Linked DNA regions of Homo sapiens: all the other regions are linked to region 3. The links are contacts of gene promoters, found by promoter capture Hi-C in blood cells and fetal thymus (Javierre and others, 2016). All regions are on one chromosome and are shown on one strand. Each heading gives the region's core, a stretch centred on a gene start or on the middle of the fragment in contact. The rest is flanking DNA. Distances are from core to core; before and after follow the strand shown.

Evidence for each region. The method cuts DNA at HindIII sites, captures the fragments that hold promoters and counts their contacts. A CHiCAGO score of 5 or more calls a contact.
Region 1: a fragment that was not itself captured here is called in contact with the fragment with the promoter of CCSER1 in region 3 in 6 of 17 cell types (M2 macrophages, total B cells, naive B cells and 3 more); the score reaches 15.3 in M2 macrophages.
Region 2: a fragment that was not itself captured here is called in contact with the fragment with the promoter of CCSER1 in region 3 in 4 of 17 cell types (megakaryocytes, total B cells, M2 macrophages and 1 more); the score reaches 6.3 in megakaryocytes.
Region 4: a contact is called between a fragment that was not itself captured here and the fragment with the promoter of CCSER1 in region 3, in 3 of 17 cell types (M2 macrophages, naive B cells and total B cells). The highest score is 8.1, in M2 macrophages.

The regions. Positions count from the first base shown.
Region 1 is chr4:90,286,249-90,288,948 of GRCh38, forward strand. All of the region lies in intron 1 of CCSER1 (coiled-coil serine rich protein 1), which reads left to right. Among named protein-coding and RNA genes, the nearest start is that of CCSER1, 160 kb to the left of the region's middle. The HindIII fragment of the contact is 2,163 bases long and covers 354-2,516 here.
Region 2 is chr4:89,948,005-89,950,704 of GRCh38, forward strand. All of the region lies in intron 6 of MMRN1 (multimerin 1), which reads left to right. Among named protein-coding and RNA genes, the nearest start is that of MMRN1, 55 kb to the left of the region's middle. The HindIII fragment of the contact is 1,584 bases long and covers 497-2,080 here.
Region 3 is chr4:90,126,121-90,128,820 of GRCh38, forward strand. CCSER1 (coiled-coil serine rich protein 1) reads left to right here and starts at 1,274. Exons shown (of 11, transcript NM_001145065.2): 1 at 1,274-1,711. RefSeq lists silencers at 1,832-2,031, 2,142-2,391. The HindIII fragment of the contact is 6,776 bases long and covers 1-2,700 here.
Region 4 is chr4:90,304,787-90,307,486 of GRCh38, forward strand. The region is part of intron 1 of CCSER1 (coiled-coil serine rich protein 1); the gene reads left to right. Among named protein-coding and RNA genes, the nearest start is that of CCSER1, 180 kb to the left of the region's middle. The HindIII fragment of the contact is 7,841 bases long and covers 1-2,700 here.

The sequences.
Region 1 (2,700 bases), core at 185-2,684, 160 kb after region 3:
AAAGCTATCAGGTCCTGGGCTTTTTTTCATTGGGAGACTTCCTAGTACTGTTTCTCTTTCACTACCTGTTATTGTATACATTTTAGAAATATTTTGCAATTTTATTGTTTGTAAAAGAAAGTGAAGCAGACTATGATTTCACATAAGGTGACAATTTCAATAAAGCAGAAGAACAGTTTAGTTCATTAAAAATTTTATAGAATTATTTGGATAGTTTGTGCCACTTACACAGTTTATTGATGGGGATGCTTTTTTATAAAAATTATTTTTCATAAAGGTTAATATAACATAAATAAAAAAATGACTTGACTCACAACTTAAAATGTGATTTCTTATGCAAAGTGAAATTTTGAAGCTTTAAATAATTTAATTTTACTGAACATTTGTAACAGATACATTTTCTCAGTCTTGGACAGGGCTAGTGTTGGCTTAGAAAAATTCATACACTTAACATTCTATATTTATTTTGCATTTTCCTTTATGCCTAATGCAGATCTCCCATGTAGTAGTAGAATTTTAATAAAGTTTGTTAAGTCATTAACTTATAAACAGATTTTACATTCTTTGGAAATATCACTGTTCTTTGGAAACTTCACCCTGTGGCCTGTCTTCATGACTTGATTTCTTAAACTGCTACAAAGAGGTGTTCTTTCTCTGTCTGCATGGCCTCAAGTGAATTAATCATTGCAGAATGGAGAGAGACATTTTGAAGAAAAATAATGTAGTGTGATTAGACACATTTGCCTCAGGTTGCTGCAGCCAGAGTGTGTTGTGGTGGTAATTTACTAAATGGTACCCTGGTGGTATGAATGAGTTTTTAGGTTTTATGACTGCTTTACTTTTTTCCAAGAAGCGATTTACACATAGGACTTTGCTACTGCTCCTAAAAGAAGCAATAGAATCATTGATCTGAAATTCAAAAAAGCATCACCTTGGGTTCTTACATTAATAATTAAAAAAAAACCCTACAAAATAGGGTCAGCCAAAATCAGAAGCATTTAATGCTATAAAATTATTATTTAGAAGTAAAATGTATAAGTTACTTTATAGTGATATAGTAAATATTGCTATTTTAAATAGCCAATGATTGAAACTACCTACATGTTTTATAATAGGAGAAACCTTAAGTAATTTGTGGTAACTCCTTTTAAGAAATCCTATCTGTTAAAACTTTCATGAAGAGTTGATAATATGTATGAAATTCTTTAGCAGGATACAACATTGCATAGGCACTTTATCTCGGTGACTCCTCACTGTTCTGCATTATTTCCATGTTACATGAGTCTCATCAGAGTTTTCACAAAGCCATTCAAGATGAGGACATAGTTCTGATAAGAACATGTTTCATTCAACATAATGCCATGTAAAGGATTCCTGCATTTAAAAATAAACTAACATAGTAGATTCATGAGATTAGACGTTTTCCATTTTTTATATTCTTCATGTCCCCCAAAATTTCCAACTTTGATATTAGAAATGAATTTATTTTTAAAGAGTCTATTTTAGGAACATTTTGCTTTAAATATGAAAAAGAAATTACTTACAAGTAAATATTTAATCTAATTTGAAACTTTATGTATTTATGTTTCATTTTTCTATTCCATCCTGACTTTTCCATTGTGATTGTGATTTTGAGTAGTATTTCTTCTCCCAGTTAAAACAAATAGCAAAACAACAAACCAACAACTTTAAACAAACAAAAACCAACTGAACAACAACAAAAAAAACCCTGGGCATTTTTTTATTCTTTTCTTTCTCTCATCCCTCTATCAATAAACAATTATTACTAGTGTTACCCACAAGATTACCAAGTTTGTTATCTTGTTTATCTGTACCATGCTATTTAAGCGAGAATGTCGTTATCTCTCCTTTGGATTATTGCAATAGAATCCTAACTGGGTGGCTAGTTTTGGCAATCAATCCTGTACAAAGAGGCTATCTCTCTTAATTTAGCTCCCTACAAGGATCTGGACCTCTAAGTTCCTGACACTTCATCTCAAATAGTTATTCCCTTTACTCACACTGCTACTTGGAATGATCAGGCCTGCCCCAGGGAGTTTGCACTTGATTCTGCCTCTGCTGGAAGTGTTCTTCTCACTCTTCTTCATTCAGCTCAAATATCACCACCTCCATACTTGTCTTCTTCATTATTTATCTCATTACAGTAATTATTTTTGTAAGACATACATCACTGTTAAAGATCATCTAATATGCTTATTTGTTTTGTTTATATTCTGTCTCCCTCATTGGAGTAGATACTCCTCCAGAAAAGGGACTAGCCCCTCTAATTCCCTTCTGAATCCTCTGTGCCTGGAGGAGAATATGTTTCCTGTTTTTGAATTATTTGAGAATTCACTTAGTATTTTGTGCTAGAAGAGTGGTATTCAGACTGTAGTATAATAATCAGGGTGTAAAGGACACCCCTGCCCTACATAGGCATGGATACCTTTTAGATAACTAATTTCTCAATTCTCAATTTTTATTTGTGATTTTCCATACAAATTACTTGTTTGAGAAGCTTCTGAGTTTTGTCAGTCATCTTCCTCATGTTTCTTTCACAATCTCCCACTTTACAAAAAAACAAGCAAATTTATGAATTCAGATTCACTTGTGAATCTGTTTAGGATGCATTGTTCAGTTTCTAAAAACCTCTAGTGTATCAACCAAGGGATAAATTACTCAGGGAGTCTTTTGAGGGCT
Region 2 (2,700 bases), core at 39-2,538, 180 kb before region 3:
ACCACACCCAGCTAATTTTGTATTTTTAGTAGAGATGGGGTTTCACCATGTTAGCCAGGCTGATCTCAAACTCCCGACCTCAGGTGATCTGCCCGCCTCAGCCTCCCAAAGTGCTAGGATTACAGGCGTGAGCCACCGTACCCAGCCAAAAGTTGATTTCTAACTCATTGTATAACAAAGTACAAATAGCTTCAGTTGGAAAATCAGTGCCATTCAATCTTTAGTTGTCTGTTATAAGGCTCTGTACTTGTCACTAATCCATCAGGTATTTTTTTTCTAGTACGTATTTTTATCGATAACTTGGAGGAACGCATGAGACATAAATTTGGAAATGATAACAAAGATAGGGGAGGGTGGCTGAAACATCTATACAGAATAAAACTGAATGCTTTCTATGGACAGAGATGGTAACTCATGTCTAATAAGATAAATTTTATTATCAATAATAATTGTAAATTCATGTTTAAATGAATTAAATAGACATGAGATTTTAGAAAGCTTCAATACATCAGAGCACAGGAGACCTGTTATGAGACAGTGTGATACAGATGCAGAAATAGACAATGAATACTTAATGCTTGTGTTATCTTGACAGAAGTGTAAGTTCATTTCAGCAGGGGTAACTAGCAATTGCTACCATAACCTACTATGCTTGGGCTCAACTGGTACAATATGTCCAGTTCTGGGTGCCATGGACATGATTTTATATTTTAAAATGTGATTATTTTGGCAGAGACTTGGAAAGTCCAGACATACCTAAAATAGCAAAAAGAGGCACAGAAAGGAACTTAAAACAGAAGCAGTCGAAGCAGGTACAGACAAGTGGCTGAGGCATCCTGAGCAGATAATCAGTAGGCACCATGAAAGATGTCCTAGAAGGCAAGCTGTGTGCAGTCTCAAGAAGTTTGGGCTACTGTAACAGTAGTAGTAGATGCAGACCTTCAATTAAACTTAAGTGTAGCCCTACTCCAGATGAATGACCCTAAAAAGAAATTGGAAAATGGGGTAAAATAGCACCCTCTGAAATGACTCAAAGAACTACAGCAAGGCAAGACCCAATTCCTAAAGTAATGGAACATAAAGAAGCAAAAAATGGAATGCTGCTCCTGGACATTAAATAGCAGGCAGAATCCTTGATCCTGAAGATTCAGAGTAGAGCCAACAGCAATGCAGATAAATCTAATTTTTTCCACAGTTTCTTAAGTTCTCCTTATAGCACAGCTTTGATCCCTGATTCATGAACAGGGCCAAGGTTACAGGTGACTGTGATTTTTTATATTTGGGAAAATTAAAATTATAGAGCTGATCAAATTACATAAATAAGTTAGTGTTCCCCCCAACTCTACTGCACAATTGATACATTCCTAGTGAAACCCATTAATTGAAACTTCTCCTGTGAGTTGATCACTGTGCTAAATTCAGAGAATGTAAAAATAAATGAAGCAAATGCTTTGATACAGAATATTCACATTACTATAAGTAATGAAAAGTCATTGATGTTTTTAATGCAGGAAAATAATGGGCAAAGTTCTGGAATGTTAATGAGCAGCAAAAAAGGGATTTGATAATCTATTCACATGCAGCAAAGTGAGGTTAAAGGAATGTTAGCCAGTCGAAATATTTGTTAAAAGGTATTACACACATGTAATATTTTAATACTTTTCTTAATAAGGAAAATAGTTTATAGAATATTGCAGAGAATATATCAAGATAATTCTGATTAATTTCTCATTACATAAGTACAATATTAATATATTTGCTTTGCAAAAAATTTTAATAATACAGGCATGCCGTTTGTTCACATTTTATGTGAATTTCAATTGTATGGCTATGAAACAAAATGTATATAAAAATTTATAGGTCTCACTTCATGAGAAAAATATTACACAAAACAAATAACTTCCAAATTAAAAATCATCAACAATCACCTGGTTTGAAATGAGTGGATGGTAAACTACATCATTACCATAAGGTGGCACCAGAGTAACTGTGGCAAGTAGTATAAGCGCTGAATTCTTCTGACCTTGTTTCTGCATTTACATAATTATGCATTATGTTTATAACCATATTCATAATTTGAAGCTTTCACAACAAATGAAATTATTCTATATGTAATGTGTGAGCTGTAACTTTCTGTCTTCAGTAAACCAAACCTGTTGGAGAATCTACCTCATTCTTTAATTGCTGTCTAATATTCCTCAGTGGGAATATGTTACAATTTATTTAACAAGTCCTGCATCAGTGATCATTTAGGAGTCTTTAAATTTTTCAAGAATGCAAGTGATATCATTTTGAATTGAAGAATTGTCTTTGTGCACATGGACAAGTATGTCTGGAGTATATATATACTGCCAGAAGAAATGTTTGGCTCAAAGTAAATTAACCTTTTTAATACTGATAAATATCGTCACATTGTCCTATTAACAGCTATAGCAGTTTACACTCCAGCCAGCATTGCATGAAAAGGCCCATTTTCCCTTATATTGACATGACTGGATATTTTCTACGTATCTTTTTAAATGTTGCCACCTTATATTTAAATAATGTTATTATTGCTAAATTTATTATTTCTGAATTAGTAATGAGGTTGCATATGCTTTAAAACTTTTAGTGACCTTTTGTGGGTTTTGTTCAATGATTTGCCTACTGATACATTCTCCGTTTTTTAACTTATTTTTTTCTGATCTGTAAGTGAAGACC
Region 3 (2,700 bases), core at 24-2,523:
CAAAAGCAGAGTTGTCCCCATGCTGTAATATACATTGACCACTCAGATTCATTTAAAAAATACATCTTGCTTTTATTCCCAATATAACCACATTTCAGAAGTTAGATCATAGCCAGTTAGATTACACAGAGCGTGCGCACGCGCACGCGCACACACAAACACACCTTGAAAAAACTGTAGATCACTTGATTTCTGGAAGTTTTTCTCAATACCTCAGTGCACCTGATCACAACATCTTGTAATCTGGGCAGAAGGTAAGGGAGGTGATGTTAGGCGTACAAACTTAATATTGGGGATGCATTTTCTACCTAGAAATGGTCCTACATTCTACCAGAATGGGTTAAAAACAGATGCGCGCGCGCACACACACACACACACACACACAGAATTAAATGCACTACATTTGCTGTATTGCCTGCTAAAGGCATAAATATACTGGAGTGGAGATAAAGAAGGGGATGGATGGGAAAGAGTTCAGTACTTAGTGTAAACCTGAAAGGAAATGAGGCAGTGCAAGGGGAGAGAGGATCAGGGGAAAATAAATTATGTAGGCAACAGAACCATGCATCAAAAGTCTTTTCGATTTCTAAACTGGCAAATTTTCTCCAGGGGACCATCAGTCAAATGATGTCAAATTGAGCTGATTCTCTTGTAATGCCTGTATTGTGTAGGGCCTTCCTTGTAGGAACACAAGTTCCACTCTCGGACACAGTCGCAGTGCTTGCATTATCTTACAGAATTGATTGCTGCAAATGGTTCCTGGGAGGTGTGACCTGCTTAAAGGAAAGAAGCTAGGTTTCTTTTCTTGTTACTGAGGAATGAAGACACTTGTCAGGATGTGAATTGTGTGGGTGAGAAGGAAAAGCGGCGAAAGAATCTGGTAATTCCTTCCCTTACAGGAGGAAGAGAAAAAAGATAACATCGGAACCTTGGAGAGGAGAAATACAGTGCATTTATTTCCAGCATCCCCGCAGTCACTTCACGTCTCTTCAGACTTCCCCTATTCTTTAGTCTTGACCTGCCTATGCACTTGAACTCCACATAAGCACTAGGATGGACTGGGGGAAAAGGCCAGGTCAGCACGGTGGGATACTGCTTCCCCTAAAATGAAAACTCAGCAGCGGGCCAGCAGTGGGTGTGCGCGCGTCGATGCCAGAGGATGCGTGCGTGGAATCCGGCGGACGCAGTGGGCCGGGCACCGCCCTCCAAGCCGCCCCGCCCAGCCCACCACACTCCTCCTTGTATAAAGGCCGCGCTTGGGCCCGCCCTCCTCACAGCCCCGGAGCGCGGCCTGCCGGGGAGGTGGATCTCGCGCTCCCCACACAGTCACACTCCGCGCACTCACACACTTGGAAGCGCCTCCCCACGTCCCTCCCCTGCCCTCCTCTTGCTCTGCTCTTCTCTCCCTCACCACAAATAGTCGCCGACCTACTGCCAATCCGCCTCTCCTCTCTCTCTCTCTCTGTCTCAACATGACTGACTGGGAAGCGGTGGCTCGGGCAGAGCAGCTCCGCTGGCGCAGGCAGGAGGAGCAGGAGGATTATTAAATAACGCAGCTGGACTCTGTGCAACTGGGAGTGGAGAGGAGCCCAACAGCCGAGAAGGGGAGGGAGGGCAGAGGAGGGGGACCAGGAAGGACACCCCCGTGCCCCGAAGACATAAATCCCTGAGTGCCCGGGAGGAGCCTTAACAAGCGCACGGAGCCCTCAAGGTAGTAACGCCCCTGGTGCCTCAGCGCTCAGCGGGTCGCGCGTCGCGTCGCCGCTTTGCGGGGCCGGCCGCAGGCGGACGCGGGGATGACCGCTCGGCAGGTGACCGCGCCGTGTCGGGGCCGCCTGCGAGCAGCGCGCGCCCAGGCCCGGCGTGCTCGGCGCAGAGACCTGGCCTTGCGGGCGGGGTGGGAAGGAGGCGGGCGGGCTCGCTCACCACCGGCCCGCGACTCCCAGTGCGCCGCGTGGCCATTTCCTCCACGCTGCTGCGTGGTTTGCTGCCTGCGGCCGCGGCGGCCGCTCCAGGGCGATGCGGAGCGCTGGCCAAGGCGGCGAGAGTTGGCGCAGGCTTCGGGTCGCTCCCCTTCCTCGCCACTCGCGTCCCGCAGGTAGAGGCGACCGGTCAGCGCTGGCGCCCCGGGCTGCGGGTGCTGAGGCGGGGACGGCGGCGAAGAGGGGGAAGGGGAGGAGGGGGCGGGGAGCCAGGGGCTCCCGGAGGAACCGCAGTGCGGGGCCGGGACCACCTCTTGCCTCCGCCTGCTTGTCCTCTGGCGCCAGTTTCCTGGATTGGAAGCAAGACCCTGCCCAGAGGCAGCAGTAACGGCAGCGACTTAGATTGAACCACTTGCTTTGTGGTGGAGCGTCAAGGGCCCCAGGTTGTGTGCGTGTGTGTGTGTGTGTGTGTGTGCGCGCGCGCGCGCGCTCTGGACTAACCAGTGGGTTGGTTCACCTGAGCAGAAAGTCAGCCGTAAGCTGAAACCGCATGTGGCCCCCTGGCCCCTTCGACTTTTGGCTTGTGTCCCAGGGACTCGTACACACGGTGCCAGCAAGGGGTAAGGGTGACGGAGGGATTTGTGAATGGTGCTTCTGCGTGCGTGGAGGCTGAGCCTTGCTGATGTAAAGGAGGAGGTATCCAGAGTGAGAAGAAAGGCTATTTATGGCAAAGAGTTGTGAAATTTCTTGGGGTTTCCTTTTAGTGTATCCTGAACTG
Region 4 (2,700 bases), core at 125-2,624, 180 kb after region 3:
TTAAAGTATAATAATAATAAAAAATAAAAAAAAATAAAATTGTTTAAAAATGTTTCTCATTAGTTGAATCCTTTGAATACTTGCTAAAGAGTTATGGGACTGACTCTTTCATTTACTGTTGTTGTTGGTGTTTTTTATTTTTTTTTTTGAGACAGAGTGTCACTCTGTCCACCCAGGCTGGAGTGCAGTGGCCTGATCTGGCTCACTGCAACCTCCGCTTCCTGGGTTCATGCCATTCTCCCGCCTCAGCCTCCCTAGTAGCTGGGACTACAGGCGCCCACCACCATGCCTGGATAATTTTTTGTATTTTTAGTAGAGACGGGGTTTCACCGTGTTAGCCAGGATGGTCTCAATCTCCTGACCTCGTGATCTGCCTGCCTTGGCTTCCCAAAGTGCTGGGATTACAGGCGTGAGCCACCGCGCCCGGCCTCATTTACTGTTAATGCTGATCCAAATGCAGGAAATACTTTAAAAATGGCCAATAAATATTTTAATATACATAAATTTGAGTATTTCAGTAATGATGGTTGACATCTTGACATTCATGCATTGAAGTCTGTAGGTTCACAACCAGCTGCAAATCATTATGGTTGATTATATTCTAATTAGAGCAAAATTCTTCAATAGGCATTGAATGGAAATAAATGTTGTATATAAGTGAAAAATATCGTGGCTGTAAGTGATGTTAGTTAAACCATTTTAAAGAATATAGTCATGAAAAAATGTATTATTCATTGTATACACTTTGGAAAATCTAAGCTGTGAGGAAAATCACACATTTTTATTTGTGAAAAATTGTAAGAGCTAAAATGTCTGTTTATGTTTTAGGTTTTCTTCAAGCAAAGCCTTACAAGAATACTGAAATGTTTTGGAGTGTTTCACATATAGTTTGATTTAAATTCAAATTCATATGGAGAAAAGGGAACTCTTGCACACTGTTGGTGGGGGTGTAAATTAGCACAGCCTCTATGGAACACAGTATGGAGGTTCCTCAAAAACTAAAGACAGAACTACCATATGATCCAGCAATCCTACTTCTGGGTATATAGCCAAACAATTGAAATCAGTATGTCAAAGAGATATCTGTACTCCTATGCTTATTGCATCATTATTCATGATAGCCAAGATATGTAACAAACCTAAGTGTACATCTGTGGATGAATGGATTAAGAAAATGTGGTTTATTTATATAATGAAATGCTATTCAGCCTAAAAAAGAAATTCTGTCACATGTCACAACATGGATGAACCTGGAGGACATTATGCTCAATGAAATAACCTAGACACAGAAAGACAAATATTGCATGATCTCAGTTATATATGGAATCTAAATAATTAAACTCATAGAAGTAGAAAGTAGAATGGCTACCAGGCCCCAGGATGGAAGGACCGGGGGCTGGGGTGTCGGGGCCAGGGGAATGGGGAAATAATGTTCAGAGGGTACAGAGTTTCAGTTAGACAGGAGAAATAAGTTTTAGAGGTTGATTCGACAGCATGGTGACTATAGTTAATAATAATGTACTGCATATTTCAAAATGGCTAAAAGAGTAGATTTTAAGTGCTGTCACTACAAAAAATGATATGTATATGAGGTGATAAGTATGTTAATTTGCTTATTTCATAATATAAAAATATCAAAACATCACGTTATACCTCATAAGTATATACAATTGTCATCTGTCAATTAAAAATAAAATCAATTTTTAAAATTAAATTCATTGACTGTAGTGAAAAATCATCCATCAAAAATCTTATAATACAAATATGTTAGATTTTATGTTGTTTGGAGAAAAATATTAAATACTTATGAATGCATATCTGAAAGCAAATATTTGTCATTTTTGTCACATACTTGTTCAAGGAAATGAAAGTATTTTACTTGATCAGTTCTCATATTTATCAGGATGATAAAATAGAGGATTTTAAATTTTGTATAGTATTTGTTAATTTTTAGTCACGTAGTTTTGGTTGTAAAGACTAAGAAATGAAACAGAGTCTGATTCAATTTACAAAGGGAGAGATCGTATTACAGTTGAAGGATTAAGCAAAACTCATAAACAAAACAGCAACCAAATCAGGTACAGTTTAAAAATCAGTGAAAAATGGCAGTCACTAGAATAGCAATATTTGCTGTACAAGTTTGAATCCTTGATGTAGAAACATAGCTGGGCCTTCATTCAGCAGTAGGAGTTCATGACTAATTACTTTAGTGAATGCAGTATGTATCATGCTGATTATGAGCTGACCCTGTAGGGTTTTTTATTCCTGCTTTACCAGGTGTTGGCTGAATGACATTATGCAAGTTGCTTTTCTGTTGTAAAATGTTCATAGTCTTATTACTTATTTCTAGAAATATAAGGTGTGAAAGAGATAATCTGTGGGAAAGTACCTGGTACGTAGCAGTTGATGAGTTGTAGCTGCCACATCTCCTCACTCGTGTCCTCCTCCTCCTTTATCTTCTCCATTGATACCCTGAATATACTGACATTAATATGGTTCATAAATGTTCTATGCTTCTGATTCTCTCAGTATGTATTGTCACTTCTCTCAAGGTTACCAACTGTCTTAGTTTTTACTCAAGTATTTTCTTCAACTGATACCTGTGGTTCTCTCATAAGTTTAACTTGTTTATAACCCTATGTTATATCCTTGTGATTTAGTTTCTTCTTCTAATGGCCTGCTTATCTCTCAGCTTCCCAA